Linked DNA regions of Homo sapiens: all the other regions are linked to region 1. Evidence: promoter capture Hi-C in 16 types of primary human blood cells and fetal thymus (Javierre and others, 2016). All regions are on one chromosome and are shown on one strand. The core of a region is centred on a gene start or on the middle of the fragment in contact, and the rest is flanking DNA. Distances in the headings are between cores, read along the strand shown. Region 1 holds the start of DEGS2 (delta 4-desaturase, sphingolipid 2). Region 2 overlaps YY1 (YY1 transcription factor). Region 3 overlaps EVL (Enah/Vasp-like). Region 4 overlaps YY1-DT (YY1 divergent transcript).

The links. Contacts are between HindIII fragments. The CHiCAGO score rates a contact against its expected background, and 5 or more counts as called.
Region 2: a fragment that was not itself captured here is called in contact with the fragment with the promoter of DEGS2 in region 1 in 1 of 17 cell types (total B cells); the score reaches 5.5 in total B cells.
Region 3: a contact is called between a fragment that was not itself captured here and the fragment with the promoter of DEGS2 in region 1, in 7 of 17 cell types (total B cells, erythroblasts, megakaryocytes and 4 more). The highest score is 12.6, in total B cells.
Region 4: a contact is called between a fragment that was not itself captured here and the fragment with the promoter of DEGS2 in region 1, in 1 of 17 cell types (total B cells). The highest score is 5.4, in total B cells.

The regions. Positions count from the first base shown.
Region 1 is chr14:100,158,331-100,161,029 of GRCh38, forward strand. DEGS2 (delta 4-desaturase, sphingolipid 2) reads right to left here and starts at 1,315. Exons shown (of 3, transcript NM_206918.3): 1 at 1,176-1,315. The coding sequence starts at 1,257. LOC124903380 (a long non-coding RNA gene) reads left to right here and starts at 1,707. Exons shown (of 2, transcript XR_007064330.1): 1 at 1,707-1,801. RefSeq lists silencers at 1,102-1,161, 1,262-1,661. The HindIII fragment of the contact is 5,862 bases long and covers 1-2,699 here.
Region 2 is chr14:100,281,816-100,284,514 of GRCh38, forward strand. YY1 (YY1 transcription factor) reads left to right here. Exons shown (of 5, transcript NM_003403.5): 5 at 1-973. It also overlaps a transcript of SLC25A29 not described here. Among named protein-coding and RNA genes, the nearest start is that of MIR6764, 5.8 kb to the left of the region's middle. The HindIII fragment of the contact is 687 bases long and covers 968-1,654 here.
Region 3 is chr14:100,069,299-100,071,997 of GRCh38, forward strand. The region is part of intron 1 of EVL (Enah/Vasp-like); the gene reads left to right. Among named protein-coding and RNA genes, the nearest start is that of EVL, 5.2 kb to the left of the region's middle. RefSeq lists an enhancer at 1-274. The HindIII fragment of the contact is 1,969 bases long and covers 328-2,296 here.
Region 4 is chr14:100,228,759-100,231,457 of GRCh38, forward strand. The region is part of intron 1 of YY1-DT (YY1 divergent transcript); the gene reads right to left. Among named protein-coding and RNA genes, the nearest start is that of YY1-DT, 8.5 kb to the right of the region's middle. The HindIII fragment of the contact is 1,319 bases long and covers 655-1,973 here.

The DNA.
Region 1 (2,699 bases), core at 65-2,564:
AGCCCAGTGGGGAGAGGTTGCAGTGAGCTAAGATCGCGCCTAGCCAACATGGTGAAACTCCATCTCACTACAAATACAAAAATTAGCCGGGTGTGGTGGCAGGTGCCTGTAATCCCAGCTACTCAGAAGGCTGAGGCAGGAGAATCGCTTGAACCTGGGAGGCGGGGGTCGCAGTGAGCCGAGATCGCGAGACTCTGTCTCTAAATAAATAAATTAATTAAATTAAATAAAACGCCCGATTAAAATGTGAAACCTCCATCAAATAAGTGCAAATTAAAGCCACAGTGAAATGGTATTGTTTCCCCAATCTGACTGAAGATTACAAAGTGTGGCAACGCGCGGTGCTGACTTAGGCAGGGCGGGAGGGGCGGGCCTGTCTCAGCCTGTGGCGATTTGGTGGCATCTGGCAAAAGCCACTCTCCAGACGCAGGCCCTTTAACCCCGTAAGCCCGGGCCAAGGACGACTCACCGGGGCCACCTTGCTTGTGGGTGGGATGGGGCCTCTGGCATGAACGAGAGTGACTCCGAGTGGGTAAAGATGCCCTCCTCGCAGAGGACACGAAGCAACAAGGAAAACAGCCACCACGTAATAAGCGACATGCCAGAATAGAAGGATTCTTTAGTACAATCTTTGCTTTTTTCAAAGAAAACACGCGCGCCTCTCATTCGCGTTTGCTCCCTTCCCGGCGCTCATCCGCCCTGAACTCCAGCCTGGGGCGCCCGTGGCCGCGAGACCCAGGGGCTCTGAGCGCAGCAGGCGCCCAGTGACTGCGGGTGGAGGCCCCGCGTCGCGCAAGCTGCCTCCGCGCCAGGGAGCGCGTGCGCCTCGTAGCGCGTCCCGGGGCCGCCCCTGCGCCCTCGCGTCCCAGCATCCCAGAGCCCCGGCCCTGGCCCCGGGAGTGGCTCGCGAGGAACAGCTGGGACGCGCTCCCTGGCGCTCGGACCCGTACTGGGGTCCTCGGAATCCTCAGGTCCCAGGGAGTTTCAGACCCGGCCAGGGTGGGGGACCCTCGGGGAGCCGGCCGGGGACCCCAGGGAGGGGAGCGGCAATGGCGGAACGCCCACTGGAATTTGGGCCAGAGCTGGAGCGGCCCGTCTGGGCTCGACCCCACGACGCGACTCCAGACGGGCCAACGGGGCGGTCCCCACCGGGGTGGGCCCCGCGCGGCGCTCACCCAGTATCTCCTTGCGCCGCTGCGTGTGCGGCTGGTCGGTGTAGACCCACTCGAAGTCGCTGCGGCTCGCGCTGTTGCCCATGGTGGGGCGGGAGGCGCCGTTCGGAGCGCGGCCGGCTCGGCTCTGCTGCACCTGTCGCGGCGGCCGCGGCGCGGAACCAGCTCTGATTAGGGCGGGGGCGGGGTCCCGGCGGGGCGGGGCCAGGTGCGCCAGGCTTGGGGCGGGGCACCTCTGGCTGGGCGGGGCGGCCGGGCCCCGGCGCTCTCCAGACCCCGGCGGGTAGCTGGCGCTTTGGGAACCTCAGTTGCCTCGGTTGGAAATGGGGCTCCCCGGCAGGACCGAGGTGGCCGCGTGCCATCTGCGCGAGTCCCTGGGTCCCTCGATGCGCGGGGGCGACTGCTGCCACCGCGGCCTCCCACCGGCTCTGCGCGCCCCGCCCACCCGCGGGCAGCCGTCGGGTTTTTACCCCGGCCCGTTCTCTCCGCAGCCCCGACCCGCTCGCGGGCACGCCCCTGTGGCTCGCGCCGCCCCTGCCCCAAGGAGGAGCGGCTGGCAGGATAGGGGGACTGCGGAGGATCGGCGTGGAATGGATGCGACGGTGCCAGTAAACAGGCGCCGAGGAAAGGTTGGTGCAGCAATCCTCCCTTCCTCCACCCGGCCCTTTCACCAATAATGCAAAGGGGAGATAATGCGTCTGCAGCAACCTCACAGGGATGAGTCAGACCCACTCCTGCCTTCAGGGAACTTGAGTTCTGGATGGGGACACAGGTACAGAAGTGGCTGTTATGATTCAGGGTGATACGTGCCATGACACAGGTAGGCCCTGAAGCAGCTAGGATCCAATAGAAGGAACTTTTGCATTGGGCCTTGAGGGGTGGGTAGGAGTTCAACAGCTAGAAAAGGGAAAGGCATTGGTGCTAGGGGGAACAGCAGATGCAAACGCTTGGAAACAAGGCAGAACCTGAATGTTCTCAAATGGAAAGTCTAGTTTTGGGGAGGTAAGGGCACAGGGCCCCTCATCTTCACCCTCTCAGTGATGCCTCTGTTCCTTCTCCCACTCCCTTGGAGTTTTGGAGGGTGGACCTGCTGTGCCTGTGGGCCAGAGCCTGGCCTCGGCTGGCAGTTGCCTGGGAGCTGACTGACACATCAGCCAGCGCTGCCACAGGCTCGCACATAGTGAGGGCGTGCTTCTGTGCGTCCCATGGAAGTCCATGGCCCGGGGTTTGGTACACTTGGCAGGCCTTCCTTAGCTCAGGGCCAAAGGCAGTCCTGAGTGAGCCAGGAAGGAAGGCATGGGTGTCCTGCAGCCGCCAGCCACCATCCCCTGAATTAGCCATGGGAAAGGTGGACACAGAGGCCAGATTTTCCATCAGCAGGGGGACCCACATGCCACCATGGCCATCACCCCTTGCCACACCCAGGAGGCCTCCCGGCCCAGCTTGCACCCTTGGGAGAAGACTCATTGCTCCCAGGGCAGCCTGCTCTGTTCCCAGCCAGAAGGGTCCTCAGAAGTCATCCCACCA
Region 2 (2,699 bases), core at 61-2,560, 120 kb after region 1:
TTCAGACAAGTCACGTCAGGCAAGAGAGGGCTGGCCTCTGACCCACAAGAGGGCAGATTTGTGGCCAAGAGGCTTCCTGGCATCCACCCCCAGGCCCAAGGGATCAGTGTGGTGCCAGAGAGGATCTTTAAGCTGGGACTGTACTGAGGCTTGATGGGAAGTATGGGCAGCATGTACTTGACACGTTATCACCCAGTCCCCTTGTAAAATCTGGAATGGAGCGTTTAAGCTGAGCGTTAGCATCAGGTCAGCAGGCAAAGCAAACCTCCCACAAACTGGGTGCCGTAAGGTGGGAGGTGACACATGGAGAGCTTCGTCCTGGCCGAGCAGGCACCCAGCCCCATGTCCCCCGCCAGCATTCTGGATGTCAGAGGAGGGTGCGTGTGATGGCGTCACATTCATCTGAAGCACACTGATTGATTTTCCACAAGGTGGCAAGTTTGATCAAATTGACCGCTTTTCATGAGACACCCAGATGCTGTAAAAAAAAAAAACAGCACTGGGATGTGTTGAGGAGGGGGCAGTTTGCTGTGCTCTGTTCTGTCTGCTGCTCTCTCTGGGGGCCGCACAATGTCCGCACACATCACGGAGGGGAGAAAGGCATCAGTACCAAACGGAACAACCTCTTTTTTCTACATTGTCCATACCCGGACATGTGAGGCTCTATTATCAACAGGTGGTGAGAAAAATTATGTTTTTATTCGCTTTCTGGTAACTTCTGTAGGCCCTGGCTCAAGGACTTAGCATTTCGTCTCATGTACATCTTTTTCTTAAGTGTTCTTTGCCATTTCTGGAATTGTCCTTGGTTTTTCCTTAGCTCATAGGTCATAGATGCAGAAATATAGTATTTAAGGCATCCGCATCCAGCATCAGATGGCTTTGCATCCAGAAAAACATTGATAACTCAGTTTGAAGCACCAAGCATGTGTAATATGGCTCTATACAATATAATAAATGCATAATGTTAAGCTTTTTAATGCCTGTGGTTCTTGTTTGTTCCTCAGTCCTCTAAGCCACTTCTTTAGTGTTTCACTGCACATGAAACCAGGCCATGAGCCCTTCCTGGTCTAAGAGTTGCCTAAACTGCCCGGGGCAGTTCTTGCGGCTTGCTTTCTCACACACAGGACTGGGAACTCCCAGGATTTGGTCTCACACCAGCAAGAAATGCTTCTGTAACCTTTCAGCTCCAAGGTGGGCTCAGGAGCAAGAGGGCGTTTTAAAGAGAGCCTCACCCACTGTTCAGAAAGCACAGCCCAGTGAAATGCCCACGCAGCCGGACCTATGAGCCCATGTCAGCCCTGGAAGCTCCGGAGCTAACTGGGATGGACTCGGAAGAACTTGACCAAATACACTGAGAGCTACTTAGGATTTAGCCAAAAGCAAAATGCAGAGCAGAGCTTCCTCCCTCTGGTTGGGGCCTTGGTGTCTGATGTTCTGCAGAGCAAGGTTCAGAGTGAGGCGTGAAGTTCATTATTACTTGAATACATGTGACTTTCCCTTTTTGCTAGTGACAGAAGGGGCTGCTGACAGAATGCTACTGAGGTGGCAAGTCGCAGGCCTGTGCAAGCCCAGAACTGCTGAGTGAAGGCCCTAAGTAGGGCTGAGCTGAGCAAGACGGTGGAAAACCTGTAGATTTTACATGGGAAGGAACTAAAGCTTTGGAATTGCTTTTTTTTTTTTTTTTTTTAGATGGAGTATTGCTGTGTCTCCCAGGCTGGAGTGCAGTGGCGCGCAATCTCAGCTCACTGCAACCTCTGCCTCCCGGGTTCAAGCGGTTCTCCTGCCTCAGCTTCCTGAATAGCAGGAGGTTGTGTGTGCCACCATGCCCGGCTAATTTTGTATTTTTAGTAGAGATGGGGGTTTCACTATGTTGGCCAGGCTGGTGTTAAACTTCTGACCTCACAATCCACCCGCCTCGGCCTCCCAAAGTGCTGGGATTTCAGGCGTGAACCACCGTGCCTGGCCTGGAATTGCTTTCTTTAGAAACCCCTAGATACAGATGAAACCAGTATCTCTCCTTTATACTTGCCGGTGTCTCTGCCTGGCTATAATTTTTTATTTTATTTATTTATTTATTTTTTGGTAAGAGACAGGGTCTTGCTATCACCTAGGCCGGAGTGCAGTGGCACGACCATAGCTCACTGCTGCCTTGAATTCCTGGACTCCAGTGGTCCTCCTGCCTTGGCCTCCCGAGTAGCTACGATTACCGTGAGCCACCATGCGCAGCCCATAACATTTGTTGAGAACACATATGTACCCAGTGGCCTCCTCCAAACCACCCTTTGATGAATTAGCTAGCAATATCACCATGCTGTAAGAGAGGAACAGGCTCAGATTTATTTGCAAAGTCCAGGCAGCCAGAATTCAAAGCCCAAGCCTGCCTGGCTTCCAAGGTACTCTGCTTGCCACTGGCTCCTTAGCTTGAATTCTCCTCCAGTCCCCTTTCAAAAAAGCCCTGGCCCTTGTTTATGGAGCAGTGCATCGGCCTCCCTGGTGTGCGGCCCTTTCTGTTCTGGCGCAGTGGTGCCTCCTGGCCTTGGAAGGGTCCTCAGGGCTCCCCGACTGCCCGCCATTGTGACCGTTCCCCTCGGTCCTTGCTGACCTCCCCACACGGCCTTTCTGCTAACAGGGTCTCAGCACGTGATTTGAACTGCAGCGGTTCCCTACTTCCTACCGAAAAATCCAGTCCCGCCGACCCT
Region 3 (2,699 bases), core at 62-2,561, 89 kb before region 1:
GAGCTGTGGCTGCTTGGGCACAGTCATTACTGTTTATTCCACTGTGCTGCACATCTTGAAGCTGTAAAGATATAAGAAGTCTCGCACAGCCGGGGTTCAGCTTACAATCCTTCGCACCTAATTGTACGCCTTTGTGTGAGGGTTTGGAGGAGTCTCCAGGAACACCTGGTGTTTCCTTTCTCACAGGTATTTCCAGTCCTCACGGGCAAGTCAGAGAGTCCCAGAGGCAATTGAACAAGCCCTCAGAGATCACGTAGTCCGTTCACTCTCCATGGGAACCCGCACTTCCCTAGAGACCTGTAGCCAAATCATTTGGAGAGCTTCTGAAGCTTCTCTGCCTTCCTCTGTCTCAAAGAATCCCATGTGCCTCTAGTTGAGAAACATTCCTCTGGAGATTCTAGGTTATTCTCATGAGAATGTTACGATACTCAGGTGGGCTGGGGCAGAAAATGGATGAGAACTAGTGTAGTCCAATGGCTTTGCTTTGGTAACTGAACCCACAGAGGAGGAAAATAACAACAGCTCAGCTTTTCTCAGTGTTATACACCAACCATTACGCTAGTTACATGATATACATACTATTTAATTCTCATCCTTTGAGGTCTGGTATCACTATTGCCACTTTACAGATAAGAAAACAAGGGTTGGCCGGGTATGGTGGCTCACTCCTGTAATCCCAACACTTTGAGAGGCCAACGCAGGTAGATCACCTGAGCTGAGGAGTTCAAGACCAGCCTAGGCATCATAGTAAGACCTCCTCTCTTAAAAAAAAAAAAAAAAAGAAAGAAAGAAAATAAAATTAAAAAATGAAAATTAGCCAGATGTGATAGTGCATGCCTGAAGCCTATAGTCCCAACTTCTCAGGAGGCTGAGGTGGGAGGATTGCTTGAGCCCAGCAGTTCAAGCCTGCAGTGAGCTGTGATCACACTACTGCACTCCACCCTGGTGACAGAGCAAGACCCTACCTCAAAAAGAAAAGAAAACAAGGGCCTACAAAGTATCGTATTCCAGGTCACATTGTTGTCACTTGACGGAGCTTTTGATCTCTGAGAGGATCAAAATCTGCCCTCTCAGCTTTAACTTCTCAAAGCTAAACTTGTCCCAATTTGCAGAGTCAAGGGTAGAATCGAGGCCCTCCTGATCTCTATTTTGCAGTCTCCGTCATTCTGTGCTGTTAATACCACAAGAGACAAAAGAGACCTCGTCTGTCCTGTAGCACCCCGTGCCTGCGTGCGTATCTCTTGTCGATGCTCTGTCGGCTCAGGATCTCTCCTACCAGCCTAGAGCTCTTTCAGAGCAGGACGCTTGTGTTATGCATTCATGTTTGTCCCTGTGCCTAGTAAATAGCACAGAGTCCAAGTGGCTACTTGTGTCTTCAGGGGTGTTTGTAAGGGCAGAGCCGGGGTCTTCATTCCCAGGCTGTTGATTCATCCTTGGAGCTGAACATACTGTCCCAATCCTTGGCCCAAGCCAGGCCTCTACAGTTGTCCCAAGGCTGTGCTAAAACCTGTTCCACTTCACAAGTGATCAGAGTCACAGACTCTGGGGACACAAATTTTGAGATGAAGACACAGAGCAAAATATATAAATGTTTTTGAGGTTTGAGTAGCCTTAACGTCCACGTGGCTGTCAGATGGCTCCCCAAAGAAAGGGCTACGCCGGTGGCCTTGAAAGAGTATGGGAGATGCATATGAGACAGGGTCAGTCTAGGAATGTCAGACTCCCCCAACAGTTGGTTGGAGTGTTTTTCCAGATTGCACCAGACTTCACAGAGTAATGGAGACCAGCTGTCCAGGCATCTGAGAGGGTGACATCCAAGGAGAAAAGGCAAACGTCTTGATTGCCCATGATGTGGGCAACCAATTTGGATAGAAAAGAAGGTGTCAGGGTTTAACACTGAATGTAGACTTTATTTACCCAAAGCCTTTCTTTAATTCTAACACTCTCAAAAATGGGGCTCAGTCACCATTTGGGTTTCCCATGTTAATATGCAGAGAGCTAATTCATTGTCTTTCATTGCTGTAATGCAGCAGTTCTCAAAATGTACTCCAGAGATTGACCCTCCTAGGAGTCTGTAGATCAGAACTGTATTTATAATATTACTAAGACATCATTTGCCATTTCAGCTCTTGTCTCATGAATTCATGGTGGAATTTTCCAGAGCTATGTGATGTTTTGACATCATCACTGTGGCAGCTAATGAAATGTCTGCTTGTATATTCTTGTGTTTTAAAAAATTATTAGTTTTAATTTCAAATAAGGTGAATATGGATAGACTTAACCTACATAAAACAGAAGCTTTTTGGCATCCTCAATAATTGAGTGTAAAGGGGTTCTCTTGACCAAAAAAGTTTGAGAACTATGTGTGTAAAATAGTCAGTTGTATGGCTGCACTACAGACAGCAAGCATGGAATTGAAAATACCACCTGCAAGGTGGCGGTTCCCCCTGGTAGAGAGGAGGGGCTCTGGGTCTGGGAGGAGGATGCAGGCGTCACTTGAACTAAACAGCTTTATGACTTGCTGTCAGATTTCCTAGACTGTGTGGTGGGATCGTGGGAACCTACTTCTCACAGGCCTGAAGTACTTCACAATAAACATTTTAAGTCTACTTCATAGCATGAAACCTGTTTCACACCTGTGCCCATTAAGAAAAAAAAATGGCACCCTATAAATGATTTAATAATTACTAAGGGGAAAA
Region 4 (2,699 bases), core at 64-2,563, 70 kb after region 1:
GGGATAAGCAGAGTCCAAGGGAAATTACTACTTAATGGCTAGAAGAGGTATGTGTGAGCACGTCTATAAAACATCCCTAACTACCTGTAACACAGATTGCACACTGTTCCCTGCTAACGACTGGCTTAATACATCAATCAATAAGACTGGAAATCGTTGTTTTCTATGGACGCTGAATCTGAGCTTGTCGAAATGATTTTCCCAAAACACAGTCTACTTCAAGGATTTCCGCAGCACTAACTCCTTTTGGAATATCCCTTTGAGAACATAATTAGAAATATATATCACTTTCATGTAGTTTGGGGCAAGCAATTTCCTTACCTTCATCACATTATAAACGAAGTCCAAGACTGATTTTTCATTGTGTTTGAAATGGATTTTCTAGAATTATGTCTAATTGCCAGATATCATAGAGATTAATAACACTCAAAAGTCTTAAGGACAAGTAAGCTAAAACTGAGTTCCCAGAGAGTCTGATTCCTTTAAGACTGTGAAGACACTGTTTAGCCAGGTTGAGAAGCATCTTCCCATCATCCCCAACTCTCCGGGCTACAGTGAACAACCATTTATTTAACACTTCACATGTTCCAGACCCAGAGTGCTCAGAACCACAGTGAGCTACAAAAATGCAGAAGAAACATCCTTTCCCCCAGAAGCTTCCAACCCAGTTAACTATCTTCAAGTGATTAAAATAAGACAGCTGACTATTAAGTTAGAAATATTACATGCTATAGGGAAATAGAGCAGGAAAGGAATGAGAAGAAATTCCTTTTAACTGCAGGATCTGGGCAAGCCTTTAGTTCAGGCAGGATCTGAACAGAGTAGAGAGGCAGGTGGATGTGAAGAAGGCATCCCTTAGTGGAGGGATGAAAAATGGAGGGATGTATTCACCAACAACGAAGCGTCTGTGACTTCAGTGTGTGCGTGTGTGTGTGTGTGTGTGTGTGTGGCAGGTGGAGGCTGCTCAGAATAGTGCAGGGGGGAGGGAGAAAAACAGTAAGAGATGAGGAAATGTATTTAGCACCTATTACATGCCAGGAGTGTTGTACGTTATTTCAATCACACTTTATAACAATATTGAACAGTAATATTCCTTTTTTACAGATGAAGAAATTGGCCCAGAGAGATTCAGAAACTCCTCTAAGATCATTTAGCTAGTCAATGGACTAAATAGTCAATAAATATTCAAATCAGGTCTTTTTTCTTTGCCATACCATGTTTGCTTAAAGCCCAGCTAAGGATTCTGGACTACCCTACAGGCAATAGGTGGTGAAGGAGGGCAGAGGCAGTAGCATCAGCAGGTATCTCTGTTCACATAGGGCCCACCGTGTGTCCAGACTGGGCTGACTCTTTTCCCTCTGGAAATAAGAGGCAAATGAGACACCCATCCCTGCCCTCGAAGAACCTCGTGTGCTTTTGTGGGAAAATAAAAACATTAACGGACACATGTATTAAAATGTAAGGACACACGTATTATAATGTAAGTACAATGACAACAATTTGGGGAGAGTGCTATGGAAACACCCTTCCAAGGAAAGTGTCCTAGAGAGGTCATCCAGGCTGTCCTGGAAGAAGTATAAAGTTGAAGAAGGTGGGAAAGGATATTTTAGGCAGAGGAAAAGATCGCTCTGAAAACAAAGATAGGAACTGTCATGGTCCACACACCTCGAGGTAATAGGAAGGACGGGGAATAAGGCTGGAAGGCTTGGGAATGCCTTGCTGAGGAGCTGAAGCCCTGGGAAGCCCCTGAAGACTTTGATCAGGGCAGTGATACGGTTACATGCTAATGCTAGGAAAATCCAGGAGTGCCTTGGGGAAGGAAGACTGGAGGCAGTTAGAGCAGCTGGTCAGCAGAGGTGAGGGGAGAGAGCCAGAGCCCGTGTGAGGACAGCAGTCACAGGCATGGAGAAGAGTTGGGTTTGAGAGATACCTAGGAGGCAAACACATCAGGTTCTGGAGGCTCAGATTTTAAAAGCTTATCACTAATATACCAAATCTCTTAAAAAAAAAAAAAGAAGAAGAAGAAGAAGAAGAAAAAAAAAAGGTCTGGCTAGCAATGTGTCCTCATCTACCCTAAGAAACTAAGTGAACACTGGGTCCTGTCTATAAGCATTAGTCCTGAAGTCAGCAGTGCCTAAATGCAAAGAACAAACACAGATGCTAAGATGTGAGTGGGCAGGCCAGTTCACCTATGAACAAGGGTAAGAAGGAAACAGAACCAGTCCTGGAGAGTACAAACACTGTGCCCTCTTCCTTAATTTGCACACCTGATTCAAGTATTTTACTTACCCTTACAGATTTCTATAACTCCTGAAGACTGATATTTTTATTCGTTTTATTTATTTATTTTTGAGACAGGGTCTCATTCTGTCGCCCAGGCTGGAATGCAGGGGCGTGATTTTGGCTCACCACAACCTCTATCTCTCGGGTATGAGCGATTCTCCTGCCTCAGCCTCCCAAGTAGCTGGGACTACAGGCATGTGTCACCACGCCCAGCTAATTTTTTTGTATTTTTAGTAGAGACGGGGTTTCGCCATGTTGGCCAGACTTGTCTCAATCTTCTGGCCTCAAGTGATCCACCCACCTTGGCCTCCCAAAGAGCTGGGATTACAGGTGTGAGCCACTGCACCCGGCTTATTCCTGTTTTACAGCTGAAAAAATGACAAGTTGATTAGTTACAAGTTTTTCTGATAGTTACA